2 separate regions of the Homo sapiens genome follow, and region 1 is linked to region 2. Evidence: promoter capture Hi-C in human tissues and cell types (Jung and others, 2019). All regions are on one chromosome and are shown on one strand. Each heading gives the region's core, a stretch centred on a gene start or on the middle of the fragment in contact. The rest is flanking DNA. Distances are from core to core; before and after follow the strand shown. Region 1 overlaps FGF2 (fibroblast growth factor 2). Region 2 holds the start of FGF2 (fibroblast growth factor 2).

Region 1 (5,218 bases), core at 1,795-4,294, 49 kb before region 2:
ATAAAAGGCAAGTACAGAGTAGAAGAAGTGAAAGTCCCAAGTAGTTAATGTTTTGAGCTGTATTCTTTACCTAGGAAACTGCATACATTCCCCCAATTTAACTACCACCTATATGCTGATCATACCCAAATCTATCTAACAATCAATGTAGACTGTTCCTCTAAGCTCCAGATTTATAATTTCAACTACTCACTGAACATCTTTACCTGAATTTCCCTTAGGCAACTCAAACTAAATAGGTCTAAATTCGAACTTACTACCTTTTCCCAAACCTTGCTCTTTTCTTCCTTCCCCTTTCTCGTCTACCTTCTCACCCAAACCAGCAACCTAAAAGCCATCTTTGACTTTTCTTTCATCTTCAGTCCTAAATCTAATCAATCACAAGTGCTAGCACTTTCCTCACTCCTCTCTGACCTACTGTTATTGCCAGGATCAGAACATGACTTGCTTGGACTATTACAGTGGCCTTCTAACTGATCTCTCTCCACCAGTCTTGGCCCCCTCAAGTCCATTCTCTACACTTCTGCCAGGATGATCTTTCTCAAATTTAAATCTAATTAGATCTCTTCTTAAAACTCTTCATGGCTCTCCACTGCTTATAGTCAGCATGGTGTATAAAGCCCTTCAACAGATTCAGCAGACAGTCTATCTACCTCCCCAGCCTTCTCTCCCTTCCCTTCCACCTAGTTACTCCATTGCACTATACATTCCAGCATTAGTTAATTACTTGTAATTCTAGAGATACATCAAGTAGATTTTTTATCCACACCTTTTCATGTCCTATGTCCTAGAGTTATCTATACCTTCATCTCAATTTCTTCTGCCCCATGACTGCCTGCTGAACTCCTTCCTTTACAACGTCTAAAATTCTACTTATAGGTCATCTCCCCCAATTCTAGAAAAATGTAATTACCTCATTTTCTATATTGCTTCCTATATCATAATACTTCTTATCCTTTCCTATATTACTATGCATGTATGCAAAATATAGAAGTAGCATATCAAAACCCTTATACATTATTATAAATACTTATTTACACTTCTGCCTCCCCTGGATTGTCACTCATTAAGGGCAGAGACAATTTGATATTCAATTTTATAAGCTCAATGCCTACCATAGCATCTGGCACACTTTCACTTAATAAGTATTGGCTATTCTTAAAGAGAATTCTAAAATTTATTCAACTACCTCCCCCCAAAATTGAGAGCCACTACACTCAAACTTGTGATTTATCCTGCAAAAATTACATAAACTGGTAATATCAATGTAAGTATATCTTTGTCATACAGTCAGTCTGAAATTGGGATAGTTTAGATACCCTTTTTCTCTGTAAGCCTTGTTTTGGTGCTTTTAGAAATCCAAAGGTCTTCATTCAGAAGAAATTTCAAAAACTATTTGTATAGCTCAAAATACCACAATTTCTTAGTACTGTTAGATCCTTTCTGTGGGGAGGTTATATAGAGATGTCATAACTGGCCAGTGGCATTGGTGTAAGAGCTGTGAAACACACACACGCACAAACATTTACATACATGTCCTATCTACTCCCTCACGGAGACAGGAATGAGATCTGTCTTTTATATTTATTTTCCTGCACCATTCTTTATACATCATATGTTCAACAGATATGCAGTCCCGTTTCTAATAATAATGGTGAAGTTGACAGGGAGCCTGTACTAGTGGAAAGAATACTAGCCAGGAACTAGGACCCCTGATAAGCTGTGATAACATGTAAAAAAGAAAAGTTCCTCTCTACAGCCAGGCACGGTGGCTCACGCCTATAATCCCAGCACTTTGGGAGGCCAAGGCAGGCGGATCACCTGAGGTCAGAAGTTCAGGACCAGCCCAGCCAACATGGCGAAACCCTGTCTCTACTAAAAAATACAAAAAAATTAACCAGGCATGGTGGTGCATTCCTGTAATCCCAGCTACTCGGGAGGCTGAGGCAGGAGAATTGCTTGAACCCAGAAGGCAGAGGGTACAGTGACCCGAGATTACGCCACTGCACTCCAGTCTGCGCAGTGGAGTGAGACTCCATCTCAAAAAAAAAAAGAAAAAAAAAAGTCCCTCTCCTGACATATATGTAAATGAGAAGTAATGTGAGGAAGAAGTAACAATTTTCAGGATCTATTACGTGTCAGATGCTGATTTGGGCACTTGATGTGTAGTATCTAATTAAATTCTGATAAAATCCCAATGAGATAGTATCATTGTTTCTATTTTACAGGTAAGAGAACTAACTCAGAATCATTTGCCCAAGAACACAGAGCTCATAAGTGGCAGAGTCGGCATCTGTACCAGGCAGAAAGCTTACATTCTCAACTAGTGTTCTACATTGCTAGTGTTTTGTACGTCACATTCTAAAGAAGAAACTTAAAAACTAATAATCAAAATTGTATACATTTATTCCCAATGATCTTCAAACAACTGCATAATAGAAGAAAATTTTTTTTAAATTATAGCTTAATAGTTTTGCAGAGTAAAAGCAGTGACTTAGAGGTCAGGAATGCCTCCAGCCCAATCCAGTCTCTACTTTATATGAGCTGTGTTTTCTTACTTTACTTACTCCCTCAGCACATCAGTTTTTGCATCTGTGAAATAAAGAAAATACTCCCTATTTTACAGGGTGACTATGACGATGATACACGTAAAATCCTTTATAAAGATTTGATAAACAACAATGCTGGTAAATTAACAGCAATAAAAGCTAACAAAAAACGTGTGAAAACAGAAAGTATGCTTACAGAAGCCAGTAATCTTCCATCTTCCTTCATAGCCAGGTAACGGTTAGCACACACTCCTTTGATAGACACAACTCCTCTCTCTTCTGCTTGAAGTTGTAGCTTGACTGTAACGGGAAAAAAAATTATCTTTGTAGCACCACAGAGGAAAGAGCCTTCTTCACAATATTTACGCAATATAAAGACAAAACACACCTAAGCAACAACTAATCCACTTTGGAGGATTGGTGAGGTTGGGGGTATGGGTGAGTGACAGGGAGCAGATGTCAACTAAACTGTATGAGAGAGGATGAGATGCAGAACTACTAGGGCACCAGTGCCTTGTGAGTTCCTTGTCGCTCCTGTGTCACAGGGTGAGCAGAGAAGGTGTCACAGGGTGAGCAGAGAAGGGGGACACACGGAGAATTGTTTCCTTTGTTGGGCAGTTAGCTTTCAATCGCCCCTGTTAACTATTTACATTTTTTAAAGTGAACATATTTTAAGGGTACATAAAAGTGTAGGAGAATTCCCATGCTACTGCCTATGTTGAAACTATTTAAAAGTTATTTGCCAATTCTTCACAAATGAAACAAAATCTAGTTATTCACTGTTATAATTTGAGCTGTATTTCCTTGACTTTTTGAGACGGAGTCTCTCTCTGTCACCCAGGCTGGAGTGCAGTGGCACAATCACGGCTCACTGCAACCTCTGCCTCCCAGGTTCACACCATTCTCCTGCCTCAGTCTCCCAAGTAGCTGGGACTACAGATGCCCACCACCACGCCCAGCTAATTTTTTGTATTTTTAGTAGAGACGCGGTTTCACCATGTTAGCCAGATGGTCTCGATCTCCTGACCTCGTGACCCACCTGCCTTGGCCTCCCAAAGTGCTGGGATTACAGGCATGAGCCACCGCGCCCGGCCCTATTTCTTTGACTTCTACACATCTTATTTCTAGCTTCCTCTTCAATGAACTATAGATGCATTTAGCTTTCTATATGGGATTTTGATGTCTATTTTTTTGTGTGCAAATATCTATCTAGTGGAAACACAAAATGCTTATACTTAATTTGCTTACACAGCAAATGATTTTCATAAAATAAGTGTGATGAAAGATTTTCATAAAATAAGATCCTGAGAAAGATGACTTGTCACACCACATTATCAATATTAAGCAGATTACAGAAAAACAAAAAAAAATTACTTAATTATGATGATAATGTAATATGGACAAATAATTACCTAATTAATTGAAATAAAAATGAAGTAAAGATTATTTTGCTATTCAGAGGCAGCATTCTCCTGCCTAGAACAATATTCCCCCAAATATATTTTTGCTAACAGATGTTAAATAAAAAATAGGTTCTGGTGTCAAATAATTTAGGAAAATCTTAGTTAAACCAAGTTAACTCTTTATTACCAAACTTCTCAGAACTCTGCTTATCATAAGATAAACAAGATAAATGTTTGTCCAGACTATTTTCATAGGTCATCCCACATCCTATGGATATGTTTAGGATATTCTTGAGAGCAACAGAAAAAAATGCAATTTTAGAAATCAGCATATTATCATTTGAATAACATTAGAAATATAAAATAAATATAATTTCCAGGTGTTTATAGGTAGCTAGGGAAACGGCATGAAAAAGCAACTTTTGAAAGTTTCTTAAATAATTAACTTTGTTAGATATCATTATGTCATAGTAATTTATGTTTTAAAATTTTTCCTACCAAGACAGCAACAGACATGCAAAATGAAACATAATATCTGGGATTAGCTTTAAAATAAGCTAATATATTATTTTAAATAATAGATAACTAAATTTTTAATAAAGTGGATAGGATAAATAAGATTCACTTGTGTTAACAGTCATTAGAAGCACAGGATTTCATTATTCTAATCTCACTACTTTTATGAATGTTTAAGAATTTACAATTTAAAAAAAAGACAATCTTAGAATTTTGTTGAACATTTCATGTCTGAGTCACCTCTGTGTGTCAGTCACCCCTGGATTCCAGAAAGCATTGCATCATTTAAGCCTACAGTTACCCAAGTGAAATTCTTCTACAAAATCTTAAAAGATAATACGAAGTAAAAGGAATGTAATGAAGACATGAAACCCAAACAATGAAGGGTATGAAGTATTTTTTACAATATTATTGGAAAATGCAGAAAATAAGCTTTGTTTTTAATCAACATAACCAAACTTATCTTAATGAGTATAAGCAAATTATTGCATACAGCTCTAAAATGATTCAGATAAGCCATTTTAATGAAGAATGCATTTGCATCTCACTTTAACTCATAAGGATGTACAAATGCCCATGAGGCAAGGCTGAATAATCAATCGCTATACTTTCTTTCTGTCCCTTATCAATCAACGCTAGCCCAGCTCTGGTCCACCATCTTATAAATGTGTATTACTAGTCATGAGGGTGATTAGGGATATTCGTGTATGGCCAGATCAGTACCAGTGACTCAATACCCAAAGTAAACAT
Region 2 (5,312 bases), core at 2,811-5,310:
ACCTCCTGGGAGAAGCCCAAGGGTAGATACAGTACTTCTAACTACTCTCATTTTTTTTTTTTTTTTTTTTTTTTGTAAATAAGAGCACCTGGAATAAATTGAATACTAAGTGTACATAAGCAGCATACATTTCACTTACTATACTCTACCACATGTTGTACGTGCTGCTTGGGATAAAGTGTTCTCTCTTCTGAATGTTTTTACACAGCTTGCTACTTTAGAGTACATACTTAATATTATCCATTCCCACCGCATTGAAAGAGGCCTGCCAAAAGTTAAGGATGCCAAAAGAAAGGCAGGAGTGCAGCGCACATGCTGGAGAAGGAGAAACTCTCTAACCACTTTTAACATCTTGTTTTTATCAAGACTCTCATGTCAAATGAAGATTATTCCAGGACTATGAGAAAAACGCCAGAAAATGGGCCCTTTTGAGTGCAAATTCAGGAGAATGCCCAGGTGTGAAGCACAGTTGACCTTCAGCAACACTGAAAAATTGGAAACATTTGTGTTGTGTCATCTTCTCCTACCTCTTCTTTTAGAAAATTTTCCTCTCTTTCCTACCTCACAGCTTCCCACTCTGCCTCCTCTTCCCCTGCACCTCTCCAGGACCCCATCATTTATATCACAGTCTTCAAAGCATCCCTCCCCAAACTCCAGTCCTTCTGGCCAGCTTTTGGGGAAGAAATTGCACTCACAATTTAATCCATACTAAATGTTAAAATCTGATAATGGTTGAACTTGGCCTTTCAAAAGTTACCTGCAGTTTAGAAAACATGTAGGCACAAAGTGTCATGCCAAAGGAAAAAAAATTCCAGTGACAGATGTTCAGGTCAGTTGGACAAAACAGTCTGAGGAATGAGACCATAGATTTTTCAACTTTTCAAACAGGTCTAGAAATCTGAGCCATAATGTAGTAGGAAACTGTGGCTACTATTAACTCTTCTCCATGTTTTCTGGTCAGTTTTATTTGTTTTGGGGGGTCTCCTCATGGTTTGGTCAACTATCAGTAAACATCCAATATGTGAGAAAATAATATACTGTACTTAAATTTATGTCCAGGTTGGGCTACATAGAAATAGATGAAATTTGTCATTTTTAGATTTGTATTCTTGTCAGTCTATTGCCTGGTACAGGTATCCTTTAAAAAAAGAGTAGTCTCTTTGGGGACTTGGGAAGAAAGGGTGGGAAGTTGGGGAGGGACAGGACTACAAACTGGATTCAGTGTATACTGCTTGGGTGATGGGTGCAACAAAATTTCACAAATCACCACTAAAGAACTTACTCATGTAACCAACTACCACCTGGTCCCTAAAACCCTATAGAAATAAAAAATTTTAAAAAAATTGGTAGTCTCCACAAGTCTGGATGAGTTATTCTACATTTCCCTTTTAATGTCTTGTCCTTAGCTAGTTATAAAGTTAGCAGAGTTCTCAACCTGAGTACTAGTGACATTTGGGGTCAAAAATGTTTTTGTTGAGGGTATTATAATGTGTATTGTAGGATGTTCAGCAGCATCCCCGGCCTCTACCTGCCAGATGCCAGTAGCACCCTTCCAGGTTACAGCAACCAAAAATGTCTCCAGGCATTGTCAAATGTCCCCTGGGAGGCAAAATCGTCCCCATTTGAGAACCACAGAGTTAAAGTAAGATTACAAAAATGAAAACCCAACTCACAGTTAGGAAGAAAAAGTTAACGGTTGTTTTTACAACGGTGGTAATGTGGTATGCAATTCAAAATTATGTCCACTGGCTAACCTCTACATAGTTTTATTCTAAGGCGAATCGGGTATCAAAATCTTCAAAGAAAAAATGATTCAGCAACTAATAGAGTCTGAAAAAAAAAGAGTATTAGGGGAAGCCCCAAATATTAATTTAATTTAAAGGGAAATTCTTCTGTCTTCTGGTCATAATACATGCTTTTTAATAAATAATTTGTGATACTAGAAAGAACAAAACCAATTGGGACACACAGCACCTTGCCCTTGTCAGCTGAGATGGCGTAGCAGACAACTGCAGAACAAACTTCAATCACAAAGATAATTTTTTGAAATAGATGAGTTCAAGTTACCAGAATAGAGAACTAGCACTAACCCATCTAATAGGTTACAAGCATCTTTTCAGTTTTACGGGATTAAGTGATTGATAAAATTTTTAAATTATGGCAAGCCTGAAAAAAATTAAATACTTGCCTCTCTTGCAGGTTGCTATTTTGGAAGCAATAAAGACTCAGCTCATATGAAAGTGTATTGCCCATTCTTCTGCCAATTCACGTTTGGTTGTAGAATTTTCTTCTCTTCCAGCCCCCCTCCACCTCCCCTCATGACATCCCATTAGCATCCCAAGACAAAGGCAGAACTACAGGGGAGTGGCGCTGGGACCCCTGTGGGTCTTTTCTCAGGCAATGAGAGAATCAGATTCTCCACCTGGAACCCATAAAGGAAGGAACGCCATAACACACAGCTTTTAAAACACATGTTTACATACACTTACAGGAGGACAGGTTACAATATATTCTAGTCCTCTTTCTCTCACTTCAAATTCCATCAGTGTTGTAAATCGGCTCATCTTATGCCCCTTTCTTTCTCTTTCCTCTAGACCAGTGGCTCTCAAAGTGTGATGTGATCAGCATCCCCGGGGAACATGTTAGAAATGCAAATCTTCAGCCCCCACTCCAGACTTAGGGAATCCCCTAAAGTCCAAGCACTCCTTATTTAGGCCAGTGTTCTTTCTAGAACCACAAACATTGTTTCTTACAGAAAGCAAAACTGCAATTCTCATTTCATCCTCAAGCCTGCTGCAAGGTAGTAATATATTAGCCCCACGTGAGCGATGAGGAAACCGGCTCTGGGGTTAAGCGTCGGCTCAAGGTCTCAAAGCTAGTCACTGCAGGTGGAAGATTAAAGTGTTTGCACTTCTTTTCACTACTGAAACAAAGCTATGGCACTTTATTAACAACATCTGGATTTTTTGCTGGTTGGCTGGTTGGTTTTTGTTTTTGCTCTTTCAGCTTTCGTCAATTCGGAAAAATATAAAACAGAGTGGGTGAGAGTAGTGTGCCATATGCCTCGGGTCGTCCCGAGTCGGAATTTAAGGGCAGGACTCTAGAAAGGTGTTTTTCCAGTAAAGACCGTTTCGTTCTGCTGCGGTCCTTCCTGTCTTTGTCCCCGGGACAGCACGCAGCAGATAGAAGCGGCCAGAGCTGCATGGCGGGGCCGCGGGCATCCCCGACGCGACAGGTTGTCCGCGGGAAGACAGCCAGTCCGCGAGGCCCCGGCGCGCCGCGGCTCCGGGCCGGGGGTACTGGTTTACAGGGCAAATTGGCACACCCCAAAGCCCAGGGGACACCCGGGCCTACGCCGCAGCCCGGAAAGGAGGGGGTGAGTGGTGAACCCGAAACCGCCGAGGGCCGCGCGGCCAGAAACCACACGGAGCGCTAGGGTCGCAGTGAAGATCCGGGAGGAGGGTGCAGGCTGGAGGGGAGAGAGCGGGCGAGAACCCACGAAATGGAAATGAGGCGGAGAGAGCGGGTCGGCACTCACTGTGAGGGTCGCTCTTCTCCCGGACCCCGTCAACTCGGCCGTCGGGGTGGATGCGCAGGAAGAAGCCCCCGTTTTTGCAGTACAGCCGCTTGGGGTCCTTGAAGTGGCCGGGCGGGAAGGCGCCGCTGCCGCCATCCTCGGGCAAGGCGGGCAGCGTGGTGATGCTCCCGGCTGCCATGGTCCCTGCGGGGCCCGGCCGGGATCCCCGAGCCGCTGGAGCCGCGCGGGGAGCCGCCGTCCCCCGGCCCCGGCCCCGGCCTCCGACCCGCTCCGGGGCACGGCCCCGGCCCCGGCCCCCCAGCCTCCCGCCCGGCAGCGCGCGGCCGCGCCCGCGGTCCCCCAGCCTCGAGCCGCTCGGCCGCTCTTCTGTCCGCCGGCCCCTGGTGCGCGGCGAGCCGGCGGCCCGGGACCTGGGGTTCACGGATGGGTGTCTCCGCGGACGCCGCCTGGGGAGAGCCGCCTCCCAAGCTGCAGCGCCCGGGATCCCGTTGCAACCGCGGGCACCGCGTCCGCTAATCTGGCACCCGCCGGGCCGCGGCGTCACATCTTCTACATCTCCACCCCCCACACCCACCAGCCTCCCGCGCCCCCAGTTCTCCTCCCTCCTGCGCGCCGCCCCCTACTCGCTCGGGTTTTCTGGGGCCGGCCTCTGAGTTCGGCGGTTCGGCCACAACACGCAAGCGCGCGACATCAGTCCGGCGGGGAGCCCGGCCTCAGTCGGGGGCGGGGGAGAGGCGAGGGGCGGGGGGCGCGCGTCGGAGGCCGCGGCAGGGCTTTGGCATTCCCTGGGCTCCACCGCCCCTTATCCCCCAAAAGTCACCCCCGCCCAACCCCCGCACCACCCAAACCACGTTTAGGCTTTCTCCACACTGCGGGGCTTTTGCTGCGCAACCAGCCGTGACTCAACTTTTAAAAGTTTAAACTCAACTTTCTCCCCCATTTTTTCCCCGCTAGCGTTTCAAAACGGAGAAGCCGTTTCCACCCCAAAGTAGAGAAGTTGCAATCCAAGGAAGAGTCTGTGTCAGAGCAGGCTTTGAAAATCTCTAAATCACCAAAAGACGAGGGGTACAAGTGGGGCATAAACTTTAAAATTAAAGGACAGAGGCTGAAGTCGTCTACCAACAAAAGGAGAGAAAGAGGCCAGAGAAGGGGAGCAGATTGGGTTGCTAAAACGAAAAGGTTTCCTTTACTGACCTATCTTGAATTAGACGACGCAGAAAGATGAGGATGGGGATAAGGATAAATCCTTATCGCGATCGAAGCGCATTAATGTCTTAACTCGGACCTGGCATTTGCCCTAGCTAAATTGTTATGCATTTCTTGGAGAGAGAGTTATTTTCTGTAAATCCCAAATGTAAAATTGAAGTTAATTGCATTTTGGTAATTTTCAGTAGGATATAGCAGGTGCCACAGATGACTAGGAAAATATCTATTCAGAAAACTTGCATGTATTGAGTACCTACTGTGTGCAACACATAATGTTGAGTGTGTGGGAGATGCCAAATCTGATGCCAGCGTCTCACACACTGAGGGAGATAAGATGGGTAGCATGAGTAACACAAATAGCAGTAGAAAGTAGGCCATAGAAGAGTAAGACTAAGTGCTGTGACATTTCAGACATCGGATAACTCAGCGTGGGGAGGCAGGAGATTTGGGGAAGCTTCTAGAAGGAGTTGCAAGTATGGACGTGCCTCCTTGTAGAAACATTAGGTTTCAAAAGGCCATGCATAAGTGCATTTGTTCTTAAGTCTCCAAGAAGGCTTTAACTCCAGAT

The links. The method cuts DNA at HindIII sites, captures the fragments that hold promoters and counts their contacts. A contact is called where the count stands out against the background at its distance.
Region 1: a contact is called between a fragment that was not itself captured here and the fragment with the promoter of FGF2 in region 2, in 5 of the 25 tissues and cell types used here (IMR-90 fibroblasts, aorta, hippocampus and 2 more).

Annotation. Positions count from the first base shown.
Region 1 is chr4:122,873,952-122,879,169 of GRCh38, reverse strand. It overlaps FGF2 (fibroblast growth factor 2), which reads right to left. Exons shown (of 3, transcript NM_001361665.2): 2 at 2,746-2,849. Among named protein-coding and RNA genes, the nearest start is that of NUDT6, 46 kb to the left of the region's middle. The HindIII fragment of the contact is 7,042 bases long and covers 1-5,218 here.
Region 2 is chr4:122,825,579-122,830,890 of GRCh38, reverse strand. FGF2 (fibroblast growth factor 2) reads right to left here and starts at 4,060. Exons shown (of 3, transcript NM_001361665.2): 1 at 3,539-4,060. The coding sequence starts at 3,716. RefSeq lists enhancers at 2,528-2,577, 2,104-2,629, 2,618-2,757, 2,630-3,155, 3,438-3,517, silencers at 3,103-3,397, 3,738-4,217, cis regulatory regions at 4,717-4,755, 4,756-4,826 and promoters at 3,883-4,850, 4,019-5,201. The HindIII fragment of the contact is 11,104 bases long and covers 1-5,312 here.